3 separate regions of the Homo sapiens genome follow, and all the other regions are linked to region 1. The links are contacts of gene promoters, found by promoter capture Hi-C in blood cells and fetal thymus (Javierre and others, 2016). All regions are on one chromosome and are shown on one strand. Each heading gives the region's core, a stretch centred on a gene start or on the middle of the fragment in contact. The rest is flanking DNA. Distances are from core to core; before and after follow the strand shown. Region 1 holds the start of PRKAR1B-AS2 (PRKAR1B antisense RNA 2). Region 2 overlaps LOC105375118 (a long non-coding RNA gene). Region 3 overlaps DNAAF5 (dynein axonemal assembly factor 5).

What was found. Contacts are between HindIII fragments. The CHiCAGO score rates a contact against its expected background, and 5 or more counts as called.
Region 2: a fragment that was not itself captured here is called in contact with the fragment with the promoter of PRKAR1B-AS2 in region 1 in 1 of 17 cell types (activated CD4 T cells); the score reaches 5.3 in activated CD4 T cells.
Region 3: a fragment that was not itself captured here is called in contact with the fragment with the promoter of PRKAR1B-AS2 in region 1 in 1 of 17 cell types (activated CD4 T cells); the score reaches 5.1 in activated CD4 T cells.

The regions. Positions count from the first base shown.
Region 1 is chr7:559,069-564,042 of GRCh38, forward strand. PRKAR1B-AS2 (PRKAR1B antisense RNA 2) reads left to right here and starts at 2,890. Exons shown (of 2, transcript NR_132384.1): 1 at 2,890-2,942. The region is part of intron 9 of PRKAR1B (protein kinase cAMP-dependent type I regulatory subunit beta); the gene reads right to left. The HindIII fragment of the contact is 11,213 bases long and covers 1-4,974 here.
Region 2 is chr7:326,736-331,709 of GRCh38, forward strand. It overlaps LOC105375118 (a long non-coding RNA gene), which reads right to left. Exons shown (of 3, transcript XR_926965.4): 3 at 2,892-4,628. Among named protein-coding and RNA genes, the nearest start is that of FOXL3-OT1, 38 kb to the left of the region's middle. The HindIII fragment of the contact is 3,993 bases long and covers 175-4,167 here.
Region 3 is chr7:772,817-777,790 of GRCh38, forward strand. DNAAF5 (dynein axonemal assembly factor 5) reads left to right here. Exons shown (of 13, transcript NM_017802.4): 10 at 1,232-1,382; 11 at 2,190-2,346. Among named protein-coding and RNA genes, the nearest start is that of PRKAR1B, 48 kb to the left of the region's middle. The HindIII fragment of the contact is 760 bases long and covers 2,081-2,840 here.

The DNA.
Region 1 (4,974 bases), core at 1,640-4,139:
TTCCAGGCTCGCCTTCAGTCACTCGTCTACTGCATTAGGGCTAGGACTACGGCCGTGAACGAGGAGGCCACATCCCTGCCCGGACCAGGACTCGGCACCCAGAGGGGAGGCAGACACAACCCACAAGGCCACAGGTGCCTGACGCCAGGAGAGCCGAGAATCAGTTCAGGGGGCGGCCAGTGAAGGCCCAGCCACCAGCAAAGTGGCCTCTGAGCTGAGACCTCGAGGGCAGGAGGAGCCAGCCGGAGAAGACGTGGGGGCCGCATCCCAGGCCGAGAGAGGGGCTGGTGCCACGGCTGGGAGAAGAGGCTGGAGCAGGGGGCAGGGCCAGGACGGGGGCTCAGGGCAGTCAGAAGGGATCTGCTCCGTCTCAGGGCTGGTGGTCGCACTTCCCCATGCCCGGCAGGAGCCCCGAGTGGTGCAGGAAGGGCTCCCCGATACGAGGGGACCCCGATCTGGGGCCGACGCCAGGGAAGCACCGGAGCCCAGGCCCGCTGTGCTCATAGCCCAGACCAGAGACCGTCTGGACACCCCCCGGGAGGAGACACACTAGGAAGCCCATCTCTTCCTATGCGGGACGCCACACGCGTGTGCAGGCAGTGAGCCGGAGTCTCGAGGCTCGCTGTGGAGTCAGGGAGGCCAGGAAAAGGCACATGCACCCCAAGTCCCTTATGTGAAGTTCTACAAGAGACAAATATATTCATTTTACTTAAATAAATATTTTAGGCTGGGCACGGTGGCTCACACCTGTAATCCCAATACTTTGGGAGGCCAAAGAAGGAAGATTCCTTGAGCCCAGGTGTTCAAGGTCAGCCTGCGCAACATGGCAAGACCCCATCTCTACAAAAAGTAAATTAGCTGGACGTGGTGGTACCTGTGGTCCCAGCTACTCAGGAGGCTGAGGCAGGAGGATCACTGCAGCCCAGGAGTTGGAGACCAGCCTGGCTAGCAAAGCAGGACCCTGTCTCTAATAATGACAAGGTTTGGCGGTGTCCCCACCCAAATCTCATCTTGAGTTGTAGCTCCCATAATCCCCACGTGTTGTGGGAGGGACCCAGGGGGCGGTAACTGAATCATGGCATGGGGTGACGGTTTTATAAGGGGCTTTCCCCGCTTTGTTCAGCTTTCATTCTCTTTCCTGCTGCCCTGTGAAGAGGTACCTTCCACCATGATTGTAAGTTTCCTGAGACCTCCCCAGCCAGGCAGAATCACAAGCGATTAAACCTCTTTTCTTTATAAATTACCCAGTCTCGGGCATTTCTTCATAGCAGTGTTAGAATGAACTAATACAAATAATAATAATAATAATAATAATAATAATAAATATATTTTAAAAGAAACTTTGTATCACGACCATAAATGGAAACTGCTATCACTTTCCATAAATTAAAAAGTAACTAAAAGATTAAGCACAGCTGGAAAGGTGTTCAACACACGAGCTTAACCCAGGCTTCCCCCTGACCTGGCCAGGAACAAATGGGACTGAGGAGGCTCCTGTCCTGCACCTTGGGCCAGGTCATCAGCACCAAAATCGGGCCGCAGACCAAGAGTCGAAGAGTCTGGGTCCAGCCTCAGCTCTGCAATGCACCAGCCAGTCTCAGGCAAGGCCCATAGCTGCTCCAGCCTCAGCTGCCTCATCTGTTATATGGGACAACGCCAACCAATGCTACAGAGCGGCGGTGAGGCCAGATTACCCCAGCTCCAGGAGTTCCAGCACGTCAAACGGGACAGTCATCATGAGGGCGGCGGCCATGAGTGAACGTAAGAGTGGACAGACACCAAATGCCTTCTCAGGGCCACGGGGGCCACGACACGTTCCTCCCTCCAGTGAGACTCCTCAGAGCCTGGAAAATTCAGGCTCACTCCAGTGCCTTTACGTTTCCTGTGCACACATTTCCTGCCTGTGTGCTTCTGGACTTAGGCAGAAGCAGAATCCTATACATACACACACACGTGTGAACACACACACATACACACAGATGCATATTTGTGCACGCAAACACCTGCGCACACACACACTGGTACGTGCATACATGCACACACACCCCACACACAGGCACACAAACACACACACACACACACCTGTGCACACACACACGGGTACGTGCATACACACATGCACACACACCCCACACACATGCACACACAGGCACACAAACCTGTGCGCACACACCTAGGCACAAACACACAGGCACACACGCCTGTGCACACACACACACACACATCCACAGAGGATGCAAGCAGCCCCTGCCTCTAAAGCACTCCCAGGTGCTCTGTGATTTCTCCTGAATAAATAAGCCCCATGGATGCATTTTTATGTTTTTTTAAGCAACCGTTGCAATAACTGTTTTTTCCACATGGAAGGCAATTTCACCTGAAGCTCCCTTCCACCCAAATCCCTTCCTGCTCCCTCAGGCGGTGACTCCTCGGAGCGCTCCTGAGCTGCGTGCAGGCTCCGGGTGTCTTGGAGGTGACCGAGCTGTCCCTCTGCCGTTTGTTTCGGGAGGCTGAGCCACTTCCCCGCAATCATCCCCTGCCCGCTCCTCAGGCCCGGCTGGCCGAGACGGAACTGATGTACGTCACACACCCTGGGCTGCAAACTGTCCTCGGGACGACAGCGAAAACACACTTCAGCGGGCGAGCCGCCCAAGGTCAGCTCCTGTGCCAGCGTTTAATGGATCATCCATGAGGTCTGGGGCCCGGCAAAGGCACGGCCCAGCAGCTTCCGTGGGAAACAAGCCGTTCCCGCGGACGTCGGCGCCAGGGCTTGGGGTGGGAACAGGTGCGGGGCTGCGTCCGCCCCCGCCTGCATGCCAGAGTGAGGCAGGCCTGGCCCCGTGTGAGACGAGCCTTTCCTTCTGCAAACCCAGTTATCCCCTCGGTTGTCTCTGCAGCCAGGCACTGTCCGTCCCGGGACCTACGCAGCTGCCATGGAAGCTCCGGTGGGTGCTCCCGGCGCGGCCGGGGGGTGGGGGTGACGAGATGCCTGTGGCTGCGCCAGCAACCACGGTTAGGTGAGAAGCGTGGAAGGAAAGGGGCATGTGGCTGCCCGGGCCTTGCCCTCAATGCCCTTCTGTGGCCCAGTTACTCCCGGCCATCTGTGTGGGAGTCTCTGCAGGTTCCGGGGAACCAGGGCGAGCACAGGCCCCAGGCTACAGAGGCTCCTGCTGCCTGCCAGGCGGGGAGGTGGGGGCAGCCATTCCTGCTCCAGCCCCAGGCACCTCTCAGGGTGGGTGGGTGGGAGTGCTCACTGCCTGTGGTTTGTGTGGCTTCAACCCCAAGCGTCCCAGTGAGGGCCCTGTCGCCTCCAGCTCCACAGGCCCAGCCCAACTCCTCGTCTGCCCCCATTAGGCATCTCTGTCCACAGGACTCCTCCCAGACGACGGCAGACACCTCCCTCGGCCTCACCTCCCAACCAGGGGTCACCAGCACTGAGGATTCTGCCCCCTGCAGAGCCTGGAACGCGTCCCTTCCAGCCCTCTCCACCAGGCCTGCACTCATCACCTGCAGGTGGGCCAAGCCCCGGCCTCCAGGGCCTCTCACACCCTTTCCTCCATTACTGCCCCTCCATCTGCCTGGTCACACCAGGTTCCAGAAAGAGCTCTTAAAGGGTCTCTGTCACACACAGATCACAACCAATCTGCCCATCATAGCTTTGCGGCCAGCAGCATTTCATCTTCCCTCCAGCTGTTCTCTTCCTCCCTGGATCTTCTTTGCAAGGCCATGGGGTCCATGCCCCCCAACCATGACTCCCTCCACCATGCTGACCCCCGGCCAGGATGTCCTGACCCCAGCTGAGATGCCCAGACACCAGCAGAGATGCCCTGACCCTCGCCCGCCATTTCAGCTGTTGCTTTCTCAGCCAAGTCTCAATCTTTGGATGAACAGACATTGAGTCCTTCCAGGTACTGACCAGGGTGCTGGACACCAGAAACCTAACGGGCGCTGATGAAATCTCCACTGTGACTTCACAGCAACCCCAACCCTTCCACACACCAGCACCTCTCATCCCAGGAGAGCCTGGGCCCGGAACTGACACGGCTTCTGCTTCCTGGGATCAAACATGCCCCCAGCCCTCCAGGCAGCCACCAGGGCAGGTGCAGGTGGGCAGGCACCTAGACCCAACCCGGAGCTGATGCCCCGTGCCCTCGGCCCCCACCCTGAGGGTCCTCTGAGAGCACCTGCCAGGTCAGGCTGCAAGTCCGCCCCAGGACCCCCTCCACGGGATACCCCAGTTTTCTTTTCCAATGAGCCTAAAAACCCTCCACAGGCTGCCTCTGCAGACACCATTCCTTAGGCCAGAAGGGAAAGGAAAGGAAGGGGTGCCACTGCTGAGAGCCCAGGCTGTGCACTGTCCACTCAGCAGGCGTCCAACAGCCCCCCGGCTTGGGTGGGCCAAGACCCACAATGTCCCAGCCCCAGGGGGCCCCAAGCTGCTTCAGCCTCTGCAACCTCTGCACGCTGGGTGTGTGTGTGCATGCATGTGTGCACGTGTGAGTGCGTGCACAGGTGTGTGTATGGGTGTGTTATTGTGTGCACAGGTATGTGTATGCACTGTGTGTGTGCATGTGTGCCAGAACAGAAGTCTGTGTGAGCATGTGTGCACGTGTGCATACATGCATGTCTGTGCGGTGTGTGCATGTGTGTGTGTGCATGGGTCTGCTTGGAGTGTGTATGTACGTGTGTGTGCTCAGGTGTGCATGCATGTCTGTATGTACATGTGTGTACGTGTGTGTGCACAGGTGTGCCTGTGTCCATGTGCACACGGATCAGTGTGTGTGCATGGGTTGTGGGTGTGCATGGGTTGTGGGTGTGTATATGTGCATGTGTGCACACGTGTGCATGGGTGAGTATGTGCGTTGGTGTGCATGGGTGCACACTGGCTGATTATGTTCTAAAGAGGCAGAAAGCACTTTCCAGCCTGGCCCGGCTCCAGCCTCCTCCATTGACAATTCAGCAGCCCCCCTCTGCCCG
Region 2 (4,974 bases), core at 921-3,420, 230 kb before region 1:
GGGTCCCACCAGCAGGCACTAATAGCTCCCTAATTCCTGTCATTAGTTAACGAGAGCCCCTAGGTTCTCTCTACACAGCAGCTCGAATGTAATTACCAGCTGGGAGTGCTGGGCACACAGGCCTTGTGTCCTGTGTTTTGCAAAATTCCCTGAAATGCACTTCATGATTCTGGAAGCTTCAGTCGGCTTGCAATTACAAGTAGCCCTTATTAAAAATCCATGCAGCCTCCCACATCAAACAAAATTAATCAGTAACAAGCTGTAAGGCTATTAGGTCATTTCCCAACACAGAGCAACTCAGGAGTGGCCCTATCTGATTGGCCCATGCACGGAGGCAGGAATTCTCCCATGTTTCTCTGAATGCCGTGAGCCTGACATGAGATGTTTGTCTTTGCTTGAATTACGTTTGGGTGTTATTCTGCTGAATCTATTCCCATTGGCCTGGCAGGCTCACTTTGCAGCGCACACACCACCAAGATGGTCATCTCATTTTGGCCAAGAGCATGAGGAAACATGTGGTCCCTGTTAGGGGAGGACCTCAGGTGTGGCCCTCCTCACCTCAGCCAGGGGGCCGAGCAGGAGCTGTGAGACAGGGTCCTGCCCAGTCTCCCCGCACCCACCTTGCCCTTTGCATGCAGCTCTGGCGCACAGGCAGCCAGGATGAGTCCTTTCAGCAGGCGCTTTGAATCTCATAGCCACTGTCCTTCCCGTCCACCTGGCCCATCCCGGCCCGCCAGGCACCTGCACTGTCGGGTCTCTGCCGGCCTCTATGCCTGGCTCTTCACTCTGCCCACTGGCTGCCCCATGGTGGCCACAGCGACATCTCCCAGCCCAGCCAGGGGCTCTTCTTATGAGAGACTGATAGGAAGGTGGGGTCCAGGCCCCTGCCCTGGCCTCCAGGGTGGGCTTGTGGCAACGGCAGAAACCATCTGCGTGACTTGTGGGGTCTGAAGTCACGGGAGGCGTCGGTGTCAGCCTGGTCTCTGGGAACAGGCACGTGCAACCCCGAGCTGTCCAGTTAGCCGTCTGGATGCTCCGAGGCCACCGTGCTGTGAAACTATCGCACGTGGAGAAGCCCTGAGACCATGGGGAGAGAGAGAGATGCCCGCCTGCCCGCCACGGCTCCCAGGCAGAGCCTTGGCTCATTCTAATCTCTCTGCCTGGACCTCTCCTCCCCGCTGTCTCCACGCGGCCGGCCCCTTTGCATTCTTCACCTCTCTGCTCAGATGCCACCTCCCCTTCATATCACCCTCTGTGAGGGAAACGCCGGCCCCATGGTCCCCCACAACTCCCTCCCTCAATGTCCCGTTCATTCCCTCTTGTGGGGTGATGCTGGTCACAATTCACGCTCCCATATTCACTTGCTGACTTGGGTATTGTCTGCTTCCCCAGCCAGAACATGGTTTCCCACACCTGCCTGGTTCTCTGTTGCTTGCCCGGGGTGCCTGGTACGCAGGACACGCTCAGGATCATGGCCCACTGCCCCGCTGCCCGGACAGGTGCGTAGAGGGATGGTGGCCATTCCCCTCCGCCTCTGTTTCTGTTGAAGACTCTCCTACCCAAGGTTTTACCCTTGAAGGAAATCTTTGCCACTTCGTTGGGCCAGTAAAATGTCATTTTTTTTTAAGTACTGGAGAGGAGGGTATGTTTTTCCTGTGTTCATCGTGGGTGTTCCTTTTTTCTCTTAGAAATTGCTTGGCCAGTCCTCTGCCCATGTTCCTGTCGGCCACAGTCCCCTTTCAACCCACCCTGCTGCCACCCGGAAGGCCTGAACGCCAGCGCCCGTGATGACCTCGGTGCCTGCCCCTCACCTGGGGCCGCCCACCTGTCCCCACCCAGGCTGTGTCTTTGTGTCTCTCTATGTCTTTTTCAATCAATTTTGAACAACTTAAAAGCGAGGATTGATTGAATCTTCTACTCTCTTGTCCCTGCAACACCCAACATGGCAGCTTCATTCCGACAATATTGTGAGGACGATATAGAGGCTCAGTAAGCACTTGCTATTTGCTCGGTTGGTTGGTTAACTTCGTTTAGTTTCCCGTAGCTCTGGCCTCAGTTAGCAAAGTTAATGACATTAAATAGCATATTTTAGCAGTAGCAAAAACAACAAACTTCTAGGAATAAGCCTAATAAGAAATATGCAGGACATCGGTCGGGCGTGGTGGCTCACACCTGTAGTCCCAGCACTTTGTGAGGTCGAGGCAGGCGGATCACCTGAGGTCAGGAGTTCAAGACCAACCTGGCCAACATGGTGAAACCCCATCTCTACTAAAAATACAAAAATCATCCGGGCGTGGTGGCATGCGCCTGTAATCCCAGCTACTGGGGAGACTGAGGCAGGAGAATCACTTGAATGAGGGAGGTGGAGGTTGCAGTGAGCCGAGGTTGTGCCACTGCACTCCAGCCTTGGAGACAGAGTGAGACTCCATCTAAAAAAAAAGAAAGAAAGAAAAGAAATATGCAAGACATACATTTAAAAATATTAAAATACTGCAAGCCAAAGTTAACAGATAGCCAACCAACTGAGGAAGAGGTATTAGCAACTCATACGGTAGACAAGATGCTACTTTCCCAAATACATTTAAAAAAACCCTCCTGAAAACAATGAGATAAAGACCAGCAAACTCATCAAAACATGAGTAAAGAACTTAAATGGGCAACTGGCTTTTTTTTTTTTTTTGACAGAGTCTCGCTCTGTCGCCCAGACTGGGGGGCAGTGGACCAATCTCGGCTCACTGCAAGCTCCACCTCCCGGGTTCACACCATTCTCCTGCCTCAGCCTCCCGAGTAGCTGGGACTACATGTTCCCGCCACCACGCCCGGCTAATATTTTGTATTTTTAGTAGAGACGGAGTTTCACCGTGTTAGCCAGGATGGTCTCAATCTCCCAACCTCGTGATCCACCCGTCTTGGCCTCCCAAAGTGCTGGGATTACAGGCGTGAGCCACAGCGCCGGCCGGCAACTGGCATTTTAACACATAGAAAGACACCCAACCACACTGGTAACAAGGAAACACAAATTGAAACTAAATGGAGGTTCCATTTTATGACGGGTCAGACTGGCAAAAAGCAAAATGCCAGGCAACCCTCAATGTTGACAGACTTGTGGGGAAGCAGGCGCTCTCGTACATAGCTGATGAAAGGACAAGTTAGCACAACGTTTATGGCCACGAAGTTGGCAACATCAATAAAAATGTAAATGCATCTGCCCTTTGGCCCGGCAATTCTGCTTATCCTATAGATACCATTGCGCACAGGTGAGGCCGTCTATGTGTGAAATTACTCACTGCAGCATTATTTACAATGGCCTAAAAGCCCGTTGATAAGAGGTTGTTATATAAATCATAATAGATCCATAAAGTGAAACACAACTGTAAGAAAAACGAGGAGGCTGGGCACAGTGGCTCACACCTGCAATCCCAGCACTTCGGGAGGCCTAGGCGGAACGCTGGGCAACATGACGAGACACCGTCTCTACAAAAATAAATTAACCGGGCATGGTGGTGTACACCTGTGCTCCCAGATACTCAAGAGGCTGAGGCGGCAGGATGGCTTCAGCCCAGGACGTTGAGGCTGCAGTGAGCTGTGACCGCATCACTGCACTCCAGCCTGGGCAAAAGAGAAAGACCCTGTCAAAAAACAAAAAAATAAAAAGGAGTCCACTTTTGGCTTCCATCAACCAGGTTGGAGAAAACAAATGACCACATGTGTCTCAATGTGTCAGAGAGTTACCAAGGCAGCCAGGACCTGAAGGCCCAAGACATTGTGGGGGAGGGAAACGCGTTGAGGTGACCCGAACTTCTGCACCCTTTGGGGCAACCGCAAACTCATAACTGGCATGAGCAGAGATGCTGAGAAGCTGAGCAGGGAGGTCTGCTGAGAATCCGAGAAGCTCAGAGGAGCTTTCAACACTGTCGTGCCAGCAGGAAGACGAGAATCAGAGTGCAGGACTGCTCACACAGCCAGGGCTTGGAGAGACAAGATCCCGGGGAGAGGAAAGGATCCCAACAGTCCAGGGTGTCTGTTTGCAAGCAGCACAGGGTGAGCGCAGAGGGGCTGAGCAGAGGCTGCTAGGAATCTAAGCAGAACTGCGGGAGCCCTGCAGTGCCGGAGAGGGAAAGACGGGCTCAGACCTGTCATGCCAGAGGATCCCTCGGAAGCACCTGAAGCTTTCATATGGACCCCTGAAGGACAACCTCTCCTCTCAACTCTAGATTTAAATCCAAGAGGTTTCTTGAGCTTGAAGTCCAGCAGGCATCTCAGCCAGGACATGCTCAGAACAAACTCCCCATTGTCCTCCCTGCACTGCCCTTCCCCACTCCCCACTGGGTCAGCGTGGCCTCATCCCTCTAGCTAGTTAGGCGAGACCCTGGGCTCAGCCCAGACTCTCCTTTCCTCTCATCCCCACGCTGAATCTGTCAGCAACTCTTGTTGGCTTCACCTTCAAAACATACCTGGAATCAGACCCCTTCTCCCCACTTCAGCACCATCCTTTGGCCCAAGCAACCATGTCCTCTCCCCCGTCCCCCGGCACTAGTACCCAAGCCACCATTTCCTTCTTTCTGCATTGGTATAATAGCTGTCCGGCTGGTATCTCAACATCCACTTGGTCCCGAGAGACACACCACCTGCAAAAGTAAAATCATTGTGCTGACACTGACAGCAAAGCCCAAAACCCTTAGAGTGACCCACAGGATCCAACCTTAGAGTGACCCACAAGATCCTATATTATATCCTCTCTCAACTGTTTTTAATGAAACTTTTATTTTAGATTTTATGTTTAGATTTTTTTTTTTTTTTGAGACGAAATTTCACTCTTGTCACCCAGGCTGGAGTGCAATGGCTCAATCTAGGCTCACTGCAACCTCCACCTCCTAGGTTCAAGCAATTCTCCTGCCTCAGCCTCCCGAGTAGCTGGGATTACAGGTGCCTGCCACCATGCCCAACTAATTTTTTTTGTATTTTTAGTAGAGA
Region 3 (4,974 bases), core at 1,211-3,710, 210 kb after region 1:
CAGCCTGGGCAGCAAGAGCGAGACTTTGTCTCAAAAAAAAGGAACGTGCCTCATTCAGTGGTTCGATGGTGGTTCTGATCAATGCCCAGAAGTTCTGATGGAGCTTCTGTCAGACACAGGCTGAGTATCCTTCACCCCAAAATTAAAAAAAAAAAAAAAAAAATTTAAAAAAACCTAAGCACTCCTAGGTGGCGCCCGTGTGGCACGCCTGGCCCACACTTGGACCCCACACCCTGAAGGCCAGGACTTCCAGGCCATTTCATGTGGTGACCATGGAGCAGGCGCTGGGTTCGTTCATTCCAGAGAGCCCTCTTGCAAGTCACGGTGCCGAAAATGGCAGCTCTGCTTAAAAACGAACCCACGCCAGAAACCTCGCGGAATGCGTGTAAATCACACCACACCAACGTCACTTTCCACATCTGCTCATCTACCTGGCTGGTCCCAACATGGCCCCTGCCAGGAGCAAGCCGGTGGCGCCTCCAGAAGAGGAAGGGACGCTGTGCAGGCTTCACGGACGCTGGAGGGCTGCGGGCTGTGGAGCTGGTCTTGGAGACCAGAGCCACCTTTGAAACATACCGTGGTGTTGGGATGTCACTAATGAGTGTGTCATTTTGCTTTGAGTTTGTCTTGGTGGCACTTTGACCTGACTGGTCACCATCAGGACGAAGTCGCCGACAGGGTGGGAACTGCCCGTCTCTCTGAGCTGTGGCCCTTGGGTCCCCGGACCGCGCCTGTGGCCCTCCCATCCCGCCTCTGTGAAGCCGCAGCGACTGTCCTTGCTGGACAGAGGGTTCTGTGGCTGGAGAGACTTGGCCTTTTTCTGGGGGAGGGATGCAGATGGGAAAGGGGCTCACTGGGTGCTGCCGACACCACCGCACCTGCCCTAGCCCAGGCGTCACTCAGGCCTCCTTTTGAAGCTAGGAGCGGCGAGGGGCTGAAAGTGCACCCTCGGCCCAGGGCCTCTGGCTCGCCTCTGGAGAACAGGACCTACGCGGGCCGCAGGAGAGGCCAGGGGCACAGGCACCCCTGTCTCCCCGGTAGGGTTGGGCCTGGAGGAACCTCCCAATTCGCACTGAGAAGCAGCTCCTGAGAGGAGGAGGGGCCTCGTGTTTTGGGGTCGAGTTCGTTTTCCTGTTTGGCTCCCCCCTCAGCCCCATTCATCCCTAGTCTGAAACGTTTCTTCCGAGCACCTGTCCGGTCTCCTCATCCACCCTCTCCGTTCCGGTTCCAGGCAGTTTCCCAGCTACCTCGAGACGGTGACAAAGGACATCCTGGCCCCCAATCTGCAGTGGCATGCGGGGAGGACAGCCGCGGCCATCCGCACGGCTGCCGTGTCCTGCCTCTGGGCGCTCACCAGCAGCGAGGTCCTGTCGGCAGAGCAGGTACGGGGCTCCCTGCGTGCTCGGTGGACACCGGCCGGGGACTGCGCAGGCTTCCTGGCGCCCGGCAGAGCTCCCGCAGCAGGAACTTGGGCAGGCAGCAGCTGCACCTCCACCTGGGGCCCGTACCCCAAGAGGCTCTCCCCACACTGGCGGCGGAAGGGCAGGAGCCGGCGGCCGGGCTGCGGTTCAGACAGCAGGCGGGAGAGCGGGAGCCAGGCCGCGGGCCCAGCCAGCCCGGTCGTGCTGCGGGTTTTGCAGCCGCTCATGAGCGTGCGGTTTCTCGGTTTCCGGCCCAATGCTGGCTGCAAGACCAGGAGTCGAATCCCAGGATCCAGGCCAGAGGACGGGCCTGGGCTTTCCGCATCGTTTCTATGAACACCTCCGGCTGGTACCAGGTGTCAGAAAACAGACACTGATGCCCGCCCGCGTCCTGGTCGCCGCCCGGCGGGAAGGCGCTGCCCTGGGCGCCCGTGCAGCATCAGCGCCACCTCCTGGTGCACGCGGGGTGGTGCGGTCGGTGCTCCAGCCGAAAGCCCCACGTCCTTGGGGCCCAGGCGAGCCATTACCCTGGTTTAGGGTTAGTGCCTCACCTAGGAGTTGTGAACAGTGTGCGTATTTTCTAAAAATCAAGTAAGCAAGTTAAAAATTGCTCAAAATCTAAATTTTACAATGAAGATTCAAGCCTACTTTTTAGGTAAAGCTTTCAAGCCCCCTAAGTCCTTCCAGGCAGGAGTGCACGGATGGTGAGCACCCCCACCCCACCCCAGGACAGATGTGAGTCACGTCGTATGTGTTTGCTGATTGCAGATACGGGACGTGCAGGAAACACTGATGCCCCAGGTCCTGACCACCCTGGAGGAGGATTCGAAGATGACGCGACTGATCTCATGCCGTATTATCAACACGTTCTTAAAAACCTCGGGCGGCATGACGGATCCAGAGAAACTCATCAGGATTTATCCTGGTAGGACATTTCTGTTGTTCACAGCCTGTGTATATGCAGTCAGCCCTCCGTGTCCCTGGGTTCCGTTTGCATCCATGGAGTCACCCAAACTCAGATCAAAACTATCTCGGGCTGGGTGTGGTGGTTCACACCTTTAATTCCAGCACTTTAGGCAGGAGGGTTGCTTGAGCCCAGGAATTTGAGACCAGCCTGGGCAACATAGCCATACCCCGATCTCAACAAAAAATTTAAAAATTAGCCAGGGCTGGTGGCACACACCTGTAGTCCCAGCTACTCAGGAAGCTGAGGCAGGAGGATCGCTTGAGCCCAGCCTGGGCAACAGACCAAAACCTTGTCTTTAAAAGTAGGGGTGTGTGTGTGTGTGTGTGTGTGTGTGTATGGCTACATATATACATGTTTGTGCATTTATACATACAAATACAAATTTGTACTTACATTTGCATATATAAATATGTATGTATTGGGGGGCAGAATTCCACAGTTCCAAAAAGCAAAGCTTGAATTTGTTGGGCACCAAGTACAACGTTGAACCCGCATGAAGAAAGCATCATGTACACATTGCATTCGGCCTTAAAACAACATTGGACCCTCGTGAAGGAAGCGTCGTGTGGACGTTGCGTTCTGCCTTAAAACAACGTTGAACCCACGTGAAGGAAGCGTCGTGTGGATGTTACATTTAGCGTTAAACGTAATCTAGAGACAGTTTAAGGTGTGCCGGAAGATGTGTGTGGGTCATGTGCAAATACTATGCCTTTTTTTATCAGAGACTTGAGCATTTGAGGATTTTGGTATCCTAGAGGAGGAGGATTCCTGGAACCAAACCCCACAGATACCAAGGGACGACTGTATTTAAGTTTGATGGTGGCTTGTTTTATAGAAAAAAAGCAGAAAACGTGGCCGGGCACGGTGGCTCACGCCTGTAATCCCAGCACTTTGGGAGGCTGAGGCAGGTGGATCACAAAGTCAAGAGATAGAAACCATCCTGGCCAAAATGGTGACCCTGTCTCTACTAAAAATAAAAAAATTAGCTGGACATGGTGGTGCGCGCCTGTAGTTCCAGCTACTCAGGAGGCTGAGGCAAGAGAATCGCTTCAACTCAGGAGGTGGAGGTTGCAGTGAGCCAAGATCGCACCATTGCACTCCAGCCTGGGTGACAGAGCCAGACTCCATCTCAAAAAAAAAAGAAAATAGAAAATGCTCATCTTTGACTTCTGTTCAAGTTGGTACTATGAGAACAAACAGCAATGACAGATGAAATACCACAAATTAAACGGCACAGCAAGAAGCAAGGCAGAGGTCTCCAAACCAGCACTGGGTGGGGGTGACAAGGCTCAGCTTCCACGCGGCCGGGAAGGGGGACCTCAGGGTGGGGCGGCTGGAGCTGCCTGTGGGGAGACGGGGCCGGGCCACCCTGCAGCAGGACCAGGGGCACAGCCTCAGTGTCGCCGCCTCCTGGAGCCCAAACCCCAGACCAACCCCAGGTGAGAGCAAGCACTGGGGAGGGGAATGGGGTGGTTGGCTTGAAGCCCCCGAAAAGCAGCAGCACTGAACAGAGTCATGAATTCAGAGAGCCCCTCACTCAGGGCAGCCTGCACACAAACCCCTCAGGACAGGGCCCCCGCCACCCAGGCCATGGGCCAGTACCTGTCCGGGTCCTGTTAGGAACCAGACTGCACAGCAGGAGGTGAGAGGTGGGCAAGCGAAACTTCATCTGTGTTTACGGCTGCTCCCCATCTTTTGCATTACCACCTGAGCTCTGCCTCCTGTCAGATCGGCAACGGCATTAGATTCTCATAGGAGCACAAATCCTATTGTGAACTGTGCACGCGAGGGATCCAAGCTGACGCTCCTTATGAAACTAATGCCTGATGATCCGTCACTGTCTCCCATCGTCCCCACATGGGACCGTCTAGTTGCAGGAAAACAAGCTCAGGCCCCCACTGATTCTACAGGATGATGAGTTGTAGAATTATCTCATTATATGTTACAATGTAGTCATAGAAATAACGTGTACAATAAACGTAACGCACGTGACTCATCCTGAAACCATCTCACCCCCTGGTCCATGGAAAATTGTCTTCCATGAAACCAGCCCCTGGTGCCAAAAAGGTTGGGGACTGCTACCTCAGAACACCGAAGACCCGGCGCTAAGGGCAGCCTCGCACCCAGCCCGGGAAGGAAGTGCCGATAATAGAACCACCTCAAAGTTACCTTTATTGAGGCGTGTTTAAGATCCTCAAAAAGCTAAAAGAACAACATCCACTAAAAAACAAGTTGAGAAACAAGAAGACAAGCAGGAATAAAGAACAGATGGAAACGGAAGCGATCGCTGGGAAGTCCGGAGTGACACGGAATGGTGTGCTGGCACTACTTTGAGGAAAGGAGTTACCCAGCGAGGGAGAAAGGGGATGGGGTGGGCGGGAAGCGGCCACTCAGGCGTTCCTGATTAGCTCTACTTAATGTGATTATCTATATTTTGTGTATTTATGCCAGAAATGTTTAGCAGTTTTTAAAAGATGGTTCTTGCTAATTCCCGGAAATGAATGGAGTCATCGGAACTTCACACTCTGTGTACTGGGTCAACTCTAGACTGAATGTGGCTGAAAACAAAGTTAGTGACGTGAAAGC